2 separate regions of the Homo sapiens genome follow, and region 2 is linked to region 1. The links are contacts of gene promoters, found by promoter capture Hi-C in blood cells and fetal thymus (Javierre and others, 2016). All regions are on one chromosome and are shown on one strand. The core of a region is centred on a gene start or on the middle of the fragment in contact, and the rest is flanking DNA. Distances in the headings are between cores, read along the strand shown. Region 1 holds the start of ANGPTL1 (angiopoietin like 1). Region 2 overlaps RALGPS2 (Ral GEF with PH domain and SH3 binding motif 2).

The links. The method cuts DNA at HindIII sites, captures the fragments that hold promoters and counts their contacts. A CHiCAGO score of 5 or more calls a contact.
Region 2: a fragment that was not itself captured here is called in contact with the fragment with the promoter of ANGPTL1 in region 1 in 1 of 17 cell types (total B cells); the score reaches 5.8 in total B cells.

Annotation. Positions count from the first base shown.
Region 1 is chr1:178,869,544-178,874,489 of GRCh38, reverse strand. ANGPTL1 (angiopoietin like 1) reads left to right here and starts at 3,413. Exons shown (of 6, transcript NM_004673.4): 1 at 3,413-3,749. The region is part of intron 8 of RALGPS2 (Ral GEF with PH domain and SH3 binding motif 2); the gene reads right to left. The HindIII fragment of the contact is 10,209 bases long and covers 1,006-4,946 here.
Region 2 is chr1:178,775,615-178,780,742 of GRCh38, reverse strand. It overlaps RALGPS2 (Ral GEF with PH domain and SH3 binding motif 2), which reads right to left. Exons shown (of 20, transcript NM_152663.5): 2 at 3,922-4,061. The coding sequence starts at 3,978. Among named protein-coding and RNA genes, the nearest start is that of RALGPS2-AS1, 52 kb to the right of the region's middle. The HindIII fragment of the contact is 4,507 bases long and covers 1-3,906 here.

The DNA of each region.
Region 1 (4,946 bases), core at 2,164-4,663:
ATTCTTCCATCTTATTAAACTCAGATGACAACTCGCCTGTAGTCACTCGCTATACTGTGCTGTCCAATATAACCACTTGCCACATGTGACTACTGTTTCGTGGGTCTATTCTGAATTGAGGTGTATTTGAATATAAAATAGACAAGATTTTGAAGAGTTAACATGAAAAATTAATGTAAAATATCTATTAACTTTTTTATTGGTTACATGTTAATATTTTAATATGTTGGGGTAAACTACTTTAAAAAAGAACTACGACATCATCAATACTGTTGCATCTATCTGTATGTTCCTTCTCTACTTCATCTCCTTGCTTCCTGTCCAGAAGTAACCATTACCTTGAACTTTAAGATCATTCCCTTATTTTTTCCCCGACATTTGTCTGTATTCCTACTTTTGCCTATTTTTGAGCTTTAAAAATCATATTTTATTGTATGTGTGGATTAAATAATAGTATTTGTAATGTTAGAAAAGTGTCTAGTATGGGAGGCTGAGGCAGGAGAATGGCGAGAACCCAGGAGGCGGAGCTTGTAGTGAGCCGAGATCGTACCACTGCACTCCCGCTTGGGTGACAGAGCAAGACTCCGTCTCAAAAAAAAAGTGTCTAGTACATACCAAGTGATTTATAAGCATTTATTAAATAAAATTTAAAAATATGGTCTTCTGTGGTTGCTTCGTCTATTTTGTTTCTAAGACTTGTCCACGCTGTTAAATGCTGCTGTAATTCCTTATAATGAGAACAAGCTAATGTGTGACAATTGTAACTCATCCATTTTATTTGATAGACTTTTGAGTTACTCCCATCCCACCCCCAACCATGTTGCTATAGACATTCTTATACACATCTCCCAGTACACATGTACAAAATTTCTTCAGGATATACAAACATGCCTAGGAGCAAAACTGCCAAGTGCTAAAGTATATTAATATTCAACTTTACAAGATGGTGTCACATTATTTTTCAAAGCTGTATCAATTCATACTCCCACTCACGGTATATAAGCTTCTGTTGATCCACATTTGTGCTAACAATTGGTATTATCCATCTCAATTTTGCCAATCTTCTGAGTATAAAATGGTATCTCTCTGTGTCTTAATTTTTATTTCCTTGATTAGTAATAAGGTTAAACGTATATATTTCTATGTAATAAATGTTTCTGTTCATTTTTTCTTTTGGGTTGTCTTTTTCTTATGGATTTCTAATTTCTTAATGTATTGTGGACACTAATTTGTCAGTTAAATTTTATCTAGTCACCCTTCAACACACTAAATAATCTGAAATCTGTATGTATCACTTATTTTGGCAATGGCATTAATAACTTTCTCATTCTAAGTCTTAAAACATCTCTCTTGGTCTCCCCTCCCTATGTAATGTCTCTGCAGTATTGTAACCATTCTCGTCTAGTTCTCAGGTTTTCCCTACCTTGAACTTTCGTATCTTCCCCCTAAGCCCCCACCATTCTTCTTTTTCCTCATGTTTCTTGTAAGCTGGTTTCCTGGAAATTGGTATCATGGTCTGTCATTAACCTTCCTTTACATTCTACATGTACTTTCTCTAGTATCTTAGTTCCATAGCTTTAGCTACTACCTAATTGCTGGTGACTTTCAAATCTCTCCATATAACTGAGCTCCTGACTTTCATTTTCAATTTAACATATCTAACCATAATCTGTCCCTAAATACCTGTCATTCCAATTTCCTACCCTGGCTAGTGATATTACTAAGTGCTCAAGTTAGAAAGCTCCAAACTGCTGAAAGTTTAAAAGCTCAGAAAGAATTTATTATCTCTTATTTTTCCCAGATTTAAGCCATTAGTGACTACAACATAATTACTGAATGCTCAAGAAACGATACATAATACAAATCAGAGGCCAGAAGCTGGCAGCACATCTGTCCCAATGTTTTTTAAAATCAGGAAGTATTACAGGAAAAATCTAAATGGCTCTTTTTTCCTGAATAATGGGAAGATCTGGCAACACTGTCTCATAATCCTTCATGGCCACAAGCACAGCTGAGAAGGTGCAGGCAGATCCCTTTAAATTAACCAAAAGGATGCCAACTTGCCATAAACTTCATTTCCCTCCAGTATCTTACTACTGATTTACTTCACTGATTTATATTACCTGCTCCATTCTTCTTGTGAGCATTTGCCTTTCTAGGCCCTTGTGTTTGCAACCTCTGGTATACCTATATATGGCATAGGAATTCAAATAAATGATTCTGTGAAAGAGGTAGAAAATAAGCTCAGACTTTAAATAAAGGATGTGGATCAACAGTGTGGCCTAACAGAAAGAGAAACACAGCACAAGCTACAGCAATAAGGAAGGGAAAGCACAGGTATGTAGAGAAAGCCCAAAAGTTTTATCTAGAAGCAGCTTACAGCAACTAGGTAATCAATGACAGAGAGTGTGGCATAATGCTTTGGCATTAGATTCAAATCCCAGTTCCACTACTTAGTACTTAAGTGCTAAGCTAAGTTACTTAAGCCTAAGTTTGTGTTTCTTCAGCTACTGAGTTATTTAACATTTCTTCAATTAATGAAATACAATAGTATAGTTGTACTCAACACTTATTCATTTCTTCCACCACCTTATTTCATAGCAGAAGAACCTTGCCAGAGGCAGGTAAAGTGATTTGTCTAAGTTCACATAGCTGGCATAGAGTCAGAGCTTCCTTGTTTTTTACTCAGTTCAGGGTTATGTTTGTTTTTAAACCACACCACATCAATTAATAACAAGAATGACCTTTTACAGAGAGGAGAGGTCATTTTGTAGAATAGGAGGATATGACATTATGTAACACCAGAATGTAATATTTAAAAGTCTTAAGCATCTGAAAGAATTTCACTTATGTTTGGTAATTATATATAAAGGCTGTTTTATCTTAAGACACATTACACAGTAAGACATAACATACTACAACAACATCAAGTTTCTTGTAAGTTTAAAACCTTCATTAGCAACTTAGTAAAATGTTTACAAATTCTTCTAGGCTATAAAGAGTATTTATTACATTATTTAGGTGGCTGCCTCCTGACAAAGTCTAGCTCTTGTTCTTTGTTAACAAAAACCAAACTCATCAGCCTGCAACTACTTCTAAGTGAAGTGGAGCACTATTTTTTTTTTCGGTATTCAACTTAAAAGATCTCTGGCCAGCAGACTAAAATGTTTGTTTTATAATTGCCCGCTGAACTATGATAGTTTGTTTCCAGATGGTGCCCTTCCTTCAACCTGCACACAATCTCTCCTTGTTCAAAACTATTCAACCTCCTGCTGATCCCACCCCCCTATTTAAGGCTACAAAGAGGAAATCCTAAGGAGATTCCCGCCCCCAGTCTCCAGCAATTTTTGGTGATGTAATATGTGGGCTGAACTTGAGTCTACTGAGAAAGAGGGAATCACTATTCAGGGGTACTGTATATACAATCTGGGTCAGCTGCAGCTGGTTACTGCATTTCTCCATGTGGCAGACAGAGCAAAGCCACAACGCTTTCTCTGCTGGATTAAAGACGGCCCACAGACCAGAACTTCCACTATACTACTTAAAATTACATAGGTGGCTTGTCAAATTCAATTGATTAGTATTGTAAAAGGAAAAAGAAGTTCCTTCTTACAGCTTGGATTCAACGGTCCAAAACAAAAATGCAGCTGCCATTAAAGTCACAGATGAACAAACTTCTACACTGATTTTTAAAATCAAGAATAAGGGCAGCAAGTTTCTGGATTCACTGAATCAACAGACACAAAAAGGTATTTAATATTTCTTTTATTTAAAAATATTATGTATAGCAAATGCATAACTATTTTATATTTGTAGTAGAAATTTCAGAATCTTTTACTAAACAAAGACCTTTGGAATATACTACAGTTTATCTCATCTGAAAAAGGTTTTATCTTGCAACTTGACATAAAAACATTAAGTACTGTGCAATGGTTAATGCATTATTTGAGGTTCAATTTAATGATGTTTAGTGTATATGATTACAGACTGATACATGCATGCCATGCTGGGTTTCTGAAAACAAGTGCTTTAGTGACAGTAGAAAGAAATTTTAACAAGTAACAGATTAAATGTATAAGGCTTACAGCACAATGATTAAAAACAAAGGAATACAAACTAAATAGTCGTGAACACAATTAGTTTCTCTTCCTGCAGCCACAGTGTGTGTGCTGAAGATATACATAAACTGTTGGATTTCTCAGTGTAGTCATAAAACAAAGCTAAGATACAAAAATAGTTGAAAGTCTTTGCAACAAAATCTCAATTACAGTATAACCAAATATTAAGCAGAAATTCTTGTACAGATTTAAGATTAATCTATGGCATTTCTTGTTCCAACTCAAAATTTTAAATAGCTTTCCAGGCTTACATGTAATAGTAATTTAATTTGGATGACAGAAATTAAACTTGCTACAAATGGAATCACTTGGAAAAGCTAAGTTATTGATATACACACAAAAGCATTATGTAAGTGGTATTAACAATAGAAAATAAGAACCCAGAAGATGTAATTAAATTCATGACTAAAAGGCCAAAAATATGTAATATTTTAGGTAGAAATAATTTTGTTAAGCACACATAAGAGGTTTCCTTCAATATTCTATCTGGGAGCTTTTTTTACATGCATTATAAAAACTATTAAAGATAAAATTACTCGTTACCAATAGTATGCCTTAAACCAAAGACACTTAAGTTTGTTAGATTTGGGGCTCCTTTAGCCTTGTAAAAATTAAAGATATTAATGGTTAAGAATCTTGAACAAGCAAATAATGGTAAAGCTAAAATTTTTTCCAACTTTGCTTTTGTGTCCTTTCCTTAAAGATTTAAAACTGTAAATGCTGGCAGGATTTCTGTTAAACACATATTTTACAAGAAATTCTAACAAAATTTCCAAGCAACAGTGGATCTGAAATACTGTCATCTCTCTTTTTTGTTGTTGCATGCTA
Region 2 (5,128 bases), core at 404-2,903, 92 kb after region 1:
ACACACCAGAATGGGAAGAAAAATTCCAGCTAGAAACATTGGTATAGGCAAAGTTATGACAGAAGAAGGAAAATGTAATAGTTTATACAGACAACAGCAAATGTAGTATTCTCTCATTAGACTGTTAAGTTTCAAGTAGAGGATTAGTAGGGGTTAAATCCAAAAATTTGGGGCCATTTTGAAGAAAGTCTTGAATAAAAGGCTCAGTGGGCATTTAAATTTAATTAGTAGGCAATGAGGAACCACAGACAGTTTTGAGAAAAGATAAAGTTTAAGAGCTGTATTTTAAGAATATTAAACTTAAATTTCAGTTGAAGGATCAGAAACAACAGAAAATATAAGTGCAACACCCAACTAAAAGGTCATGGCACTAATCTAGACAAGAAATAATAAACGACCAAACTAACATGGTAGTACAGTAATAGAAATAAGGAGAAAAGTACTGGATCCCAGAGATAAAGCACAGTGGACAGGCTCTAAGATAGCTGCTAAAGATCTCTATCTCTTGGTATTCTCAACCCTGTGTGATCCTCTCCCCTTGAGTGTGGGCAGAACCTGTGACTTGTTTCTAACCAGCAGAATATGGAAAAGGAGATGAGATGTCACTTCCATGATTACGTTATATAAGATTGTAACTTCTGTCTTGCTAGCAGATTCTCTCTGCTATGATGAGACAATGGTTGTGGTGGGCAAAAATTAACAACACATTGGCCGGATGCAGTGGCTCACATCTATAATCCCAGCAGTTTGGGAGGCCAAGGCAGGTGGATCACCTGATGTCAGGAATTCAAGACCAGCCTGGCCAACAAGGTGAAACCCCATCTCTACTAAAAATACAAAAATTAGCCAGGCGTGGTGGCAAGCACCTGTAATCCCAGCTACTGGGGAGGCTGAGGCAGGAGAATTGCTTGAACCTGGGAGGCAGAGGTTGCAATGGGCCCAGATCGTGCCACTGCACTCCAGCCTGGGCAACAAGAACAAAACTCTGTCTCAAACCCCACCACAAATAAACAACACATCTAAAGATTTAAACTTAGATGGCTATGGAAATGTGATGCTATTAACCTAAGTTAGAGAAAAGGCTTGGACTATTTTCTTTATGGTTGTGGAGCAGAACAGTAATAAGAAACTTGATTTTGTGGACATTAAAATGTCTGGTCCATCAAAAATGCTTAATAAAATTCATGAGGGAAGCCAGGGCTAGAGATAAAAATAAATCATCTACATAACAAAAACAATTGAAACCATAGACTTAGACTATTTTCAGTGATATCAAGGCCTAAGTAACTAGCTGGGGCAAAATGGAGTTGGGGCTATTAAGGAACTTTGAGGTCAAGGTGTTAAAGGGTCATAAACATTATTCTCATCCAATATACTAAGAGAAAAATAAGAAATATAGAAGCCAGATGCTAAAGTTATTAAGGAAAGCAGGCAAGTTCCCTAGATTTATACACAAAGAAAAAAATAAAAAAGTTGGGGCAAAAATACAATCATAATATATTAACTAGAGGGGTGAGCATCTAGTTCAGTCTTCACATCTCCATCTTAAATGCTAAACTACATCAGCAGAGTAAGCCCTTACAACATTCCAGCCTAACGGTTCTTTTGTTTCCTCTAATATATGTGGAATCAAGGGATCTAGATGGGTCCAAAATTTAGTGATTCCAAGTAAAAGAATCTTTCTTTGCCTTACTTGCATTATTGCCCTCAAGGATGATGTAATGTAAAAATACTCTAAAAAGAAATTCTATGTTTCTTTTAAAAATAAAGAGTTTTATGAGTTACCATTATTTGTCATTATTTTTCAAGTATCTTAAGTAGATAAGGATTAAGTATACCTATGATGCACAGGGAACATACGAATCACTAAAATAAAAGTTAAAATATGTGTATTTCTCATTGTTCAATTCCCACCTATGAGTGAGAATATGCGGTGTTTGGTTTTTTGTTCTTGCGATAGTTTACTGAGAATGATGATTTCCAATTTCATCCATGTCCCTACAAAGGACATGAACTCATCATTTTTTATGGCTGCATAGTATTCCATGGTGTATATGTGCCACATTTTCTTAATCCAGTCTATCATTGTTGGACATTTGGGTTGGTTCCAAGTCTTTGCTATTGTGAATAATGCCGCAATAAACATACGTGTGCATGTGTCTTTATAGCAGCATGATTTATAGTCCTTTGGGTATATACCCAGTAATGGGATGGCTGGGTCAAATGGTATTTCTAGTTCTAGATCCCTGAGGAATCGCCACACTGACTTCCACAATGGTTGAACTAGTTTACAGTCCCACCAACAGTGTAAAAGTGTTCCTATTTCTCCACATCCTCTCCAGCACCTGTTGTTTCCTGACTTTTTAATGATTGCCATTCTAACTGGTGTGAGATGGTATCTCATTGTGGTTTTGATTTGCATTTCTCTGATGCCCAGTGATGATGAGCATTTTTTCATGTGTTTTTTGGCTGCATAAATGTCTTCTTTTGAGAAGTGTCTGTTCATGTCCTTCGCCCACTTTTTGATGGGGTTGTTTGTTTTTTTCTTGTAAATTTGTTTGAGTTCATTGTAGATTCTGGATATTAGCACTTTGTCAGATGAGTAGGTTGTGAAAATTTTCTCCCATTTTGTAGGTTGCCTGTTCACTCTGATGGTAGTTTCTTTTGCTGTGCAGAAGCTCTTTAGTTTAATTAGATCCCATTTGTCAATTTTGTCTTTTGTTGCCATTGTTTTTGGTGTTTTAGACATGAAGTCCTTGCCCATGCCTATGTCCTGAATGGTAATGCCTAGGTTTTCTTCTAGGGTTTTTATGGTTTTAGGTCTAACGTTTAAGTCTTTAATCCATCTTGAATTGATTTTTGTATAAGGTGTAAGGAAGGGATCCAGTTTCAGCTTTCTACATATGGCTAGCCAGTTTTCCCAGCACCATTTATTAAATAGGGAATCCTTTCCCCGTTGCTTGTTTTTCTCAGGTTTGTCAAAGATCAGATAGTTGTAGATATGCGGTGTTATTTCCGAGGGCTCTGTTCTGTTCCATTGATCTATATCTCTGTTTTGGTACCAGTACCATGCTGTTTTGGTTACTGTAGCCTTGTAGTATAGTTTGAAGTCAGGTAGTGTGATGCCTCCAGCTTTGTTCTTTTGGCTTAGGATTGCCTTGGCGATGCAGGCTCTTTTTTGGTTCCATATGAACTTTAAAGTAGTTTTTTCCAATTCTGTGAAGAAAGTCATTGGTAGCTTGATGGGGATGGCATTGAATCTGTAAATTACCTTGGGCAGTATGGCCATTTTCACCATATTGATTCTTCCTACCCATGAGCATGGAATGTTCTTCCATTTGTTTGTATCCTCTTTTATTTCCTTGAGCAGTGGTTTGTAGTTCTCCTTGAAGAGGTCCTTCACATCCCTTGTAAGTTGGATTCCTGTGTATTTTATTCTCTTTGAAGCAATTGTGAATGGGAGTTCACTCATGATTTGGCTGTCTGTTTGTCTGTTATTGGTGTATAAGAATGCTTGTGATTTTTGTACATTGATTTTGTATCCTGAGACTTTGCTGAAGTTGCTTATCAGCTTAAGGAGATTTCACATGGACACAGGAAGGGGAATACCACACTCTGGGGATTGTGGTGGGGTGGGGGGAGGGGGGAGGGATAGCATTGGGAGATATACCTAATGCTAGATGACGAGTTAGTGGGTGCAGCGCACCAGCATGGCACACGTATACATATGTAACTAACCCGCACAATGTGCACATGTACCCTAAAACTTAAAGTATAAAAAAAAATAAAATTTAAAAAAAAAGGAAATGTGTATTTCTGCACTAAATGCACTTCTGATTTAAGTATGTGAACAAACATAATGCTTGAAAAATTAGAAAGCCAGGTAAGAAACTTTACACCCAAGCTTCTTAAATATCTTACCTCAGAAGCAGTAGCTGCAATATTGACACTGCTTGCCTGCCCGTTCATTAGGTCCATGCTTTCCTCATCAGTCCCTGACCTTATGTTAACAGCAACAGAGGACTGACTGCCTCATGTCCAAGGCCACAAATACATTATTCCTGTAAAAAAAAAAAAAAGTTAAGCAAATGTCTTCCTCGAAGTTCAAGAAAACAACTCTATGCCTACCACCATGCCAAGAAACAAAAATTTCAACTTCACTAAACTCTATTTATTATCTTAGCTCAGTCGCTAAATCCAAACTGAGGACAATCTTGTATGCTCTTTTCAAACAATCAGAACACCAAATAAACAGTATTCAATAGATGTTATTGTTATGTTCTTCATAAGCAAAGCAAAAGCATAACTTTTCGCTAAGTGGGTATTGCGAGGGAAAAAAATCAAATGTACAACTTTCTTAAAGTAAATAAAATGTGTAAAAACACAGGTGGCAAAGTAACACATACCACAACACAATAAATTTTTAGCGATCCAAATGACACCTGTAAATCAACAATACTGAATAAGCTTATCACAGCTAGTGATCTAGATTACCAACATATCACAAATACTTAAAATATTATGAACTACATGTCATAAAAATACAATCATCTCTCAGTATCCATGGGGGATTTGTTCCAGGATCTACTATAGATACCAAAATCCACCGATGCTTAAGGCCCTTATATAATGGTGCAGTATTTGCATATCACCTATACACATCCTCTTGTATACTTTAAATCATCTCCGGATTACTCATAATACTTAATACAGTGCCAATGCTACGTAAATTGTTGTTATATTGTATTTTTTAGGGAATTATAGCAAGGAAAAGTCTGTACATGTTCAGTACAGATGCAACCATCCTTTTTTTTTTTTTTTTGCCCCAAGTATTTTCAACTCAGATTTGTTTGAATCCAGATGTAGAACCCATGGATATGGTGGCTTTACTGTACCATAATATACACTATGTTTATTTGTATAGGACTTTAAAGTTTATTAAATATCTTTAATACATTATGTTGATTTGCACAACTACCAATAACACTAATTAGGGAAGATATACCCACATAACAAACAAACACAGAGCTTCTGAGGACACAGGATGGTAAATAAGGAGCCAAGAACAAGTTTCAAGCCATCAAAATTCTAGTCAAATATTCTTTTCACAACACAGATTTTCCACTTT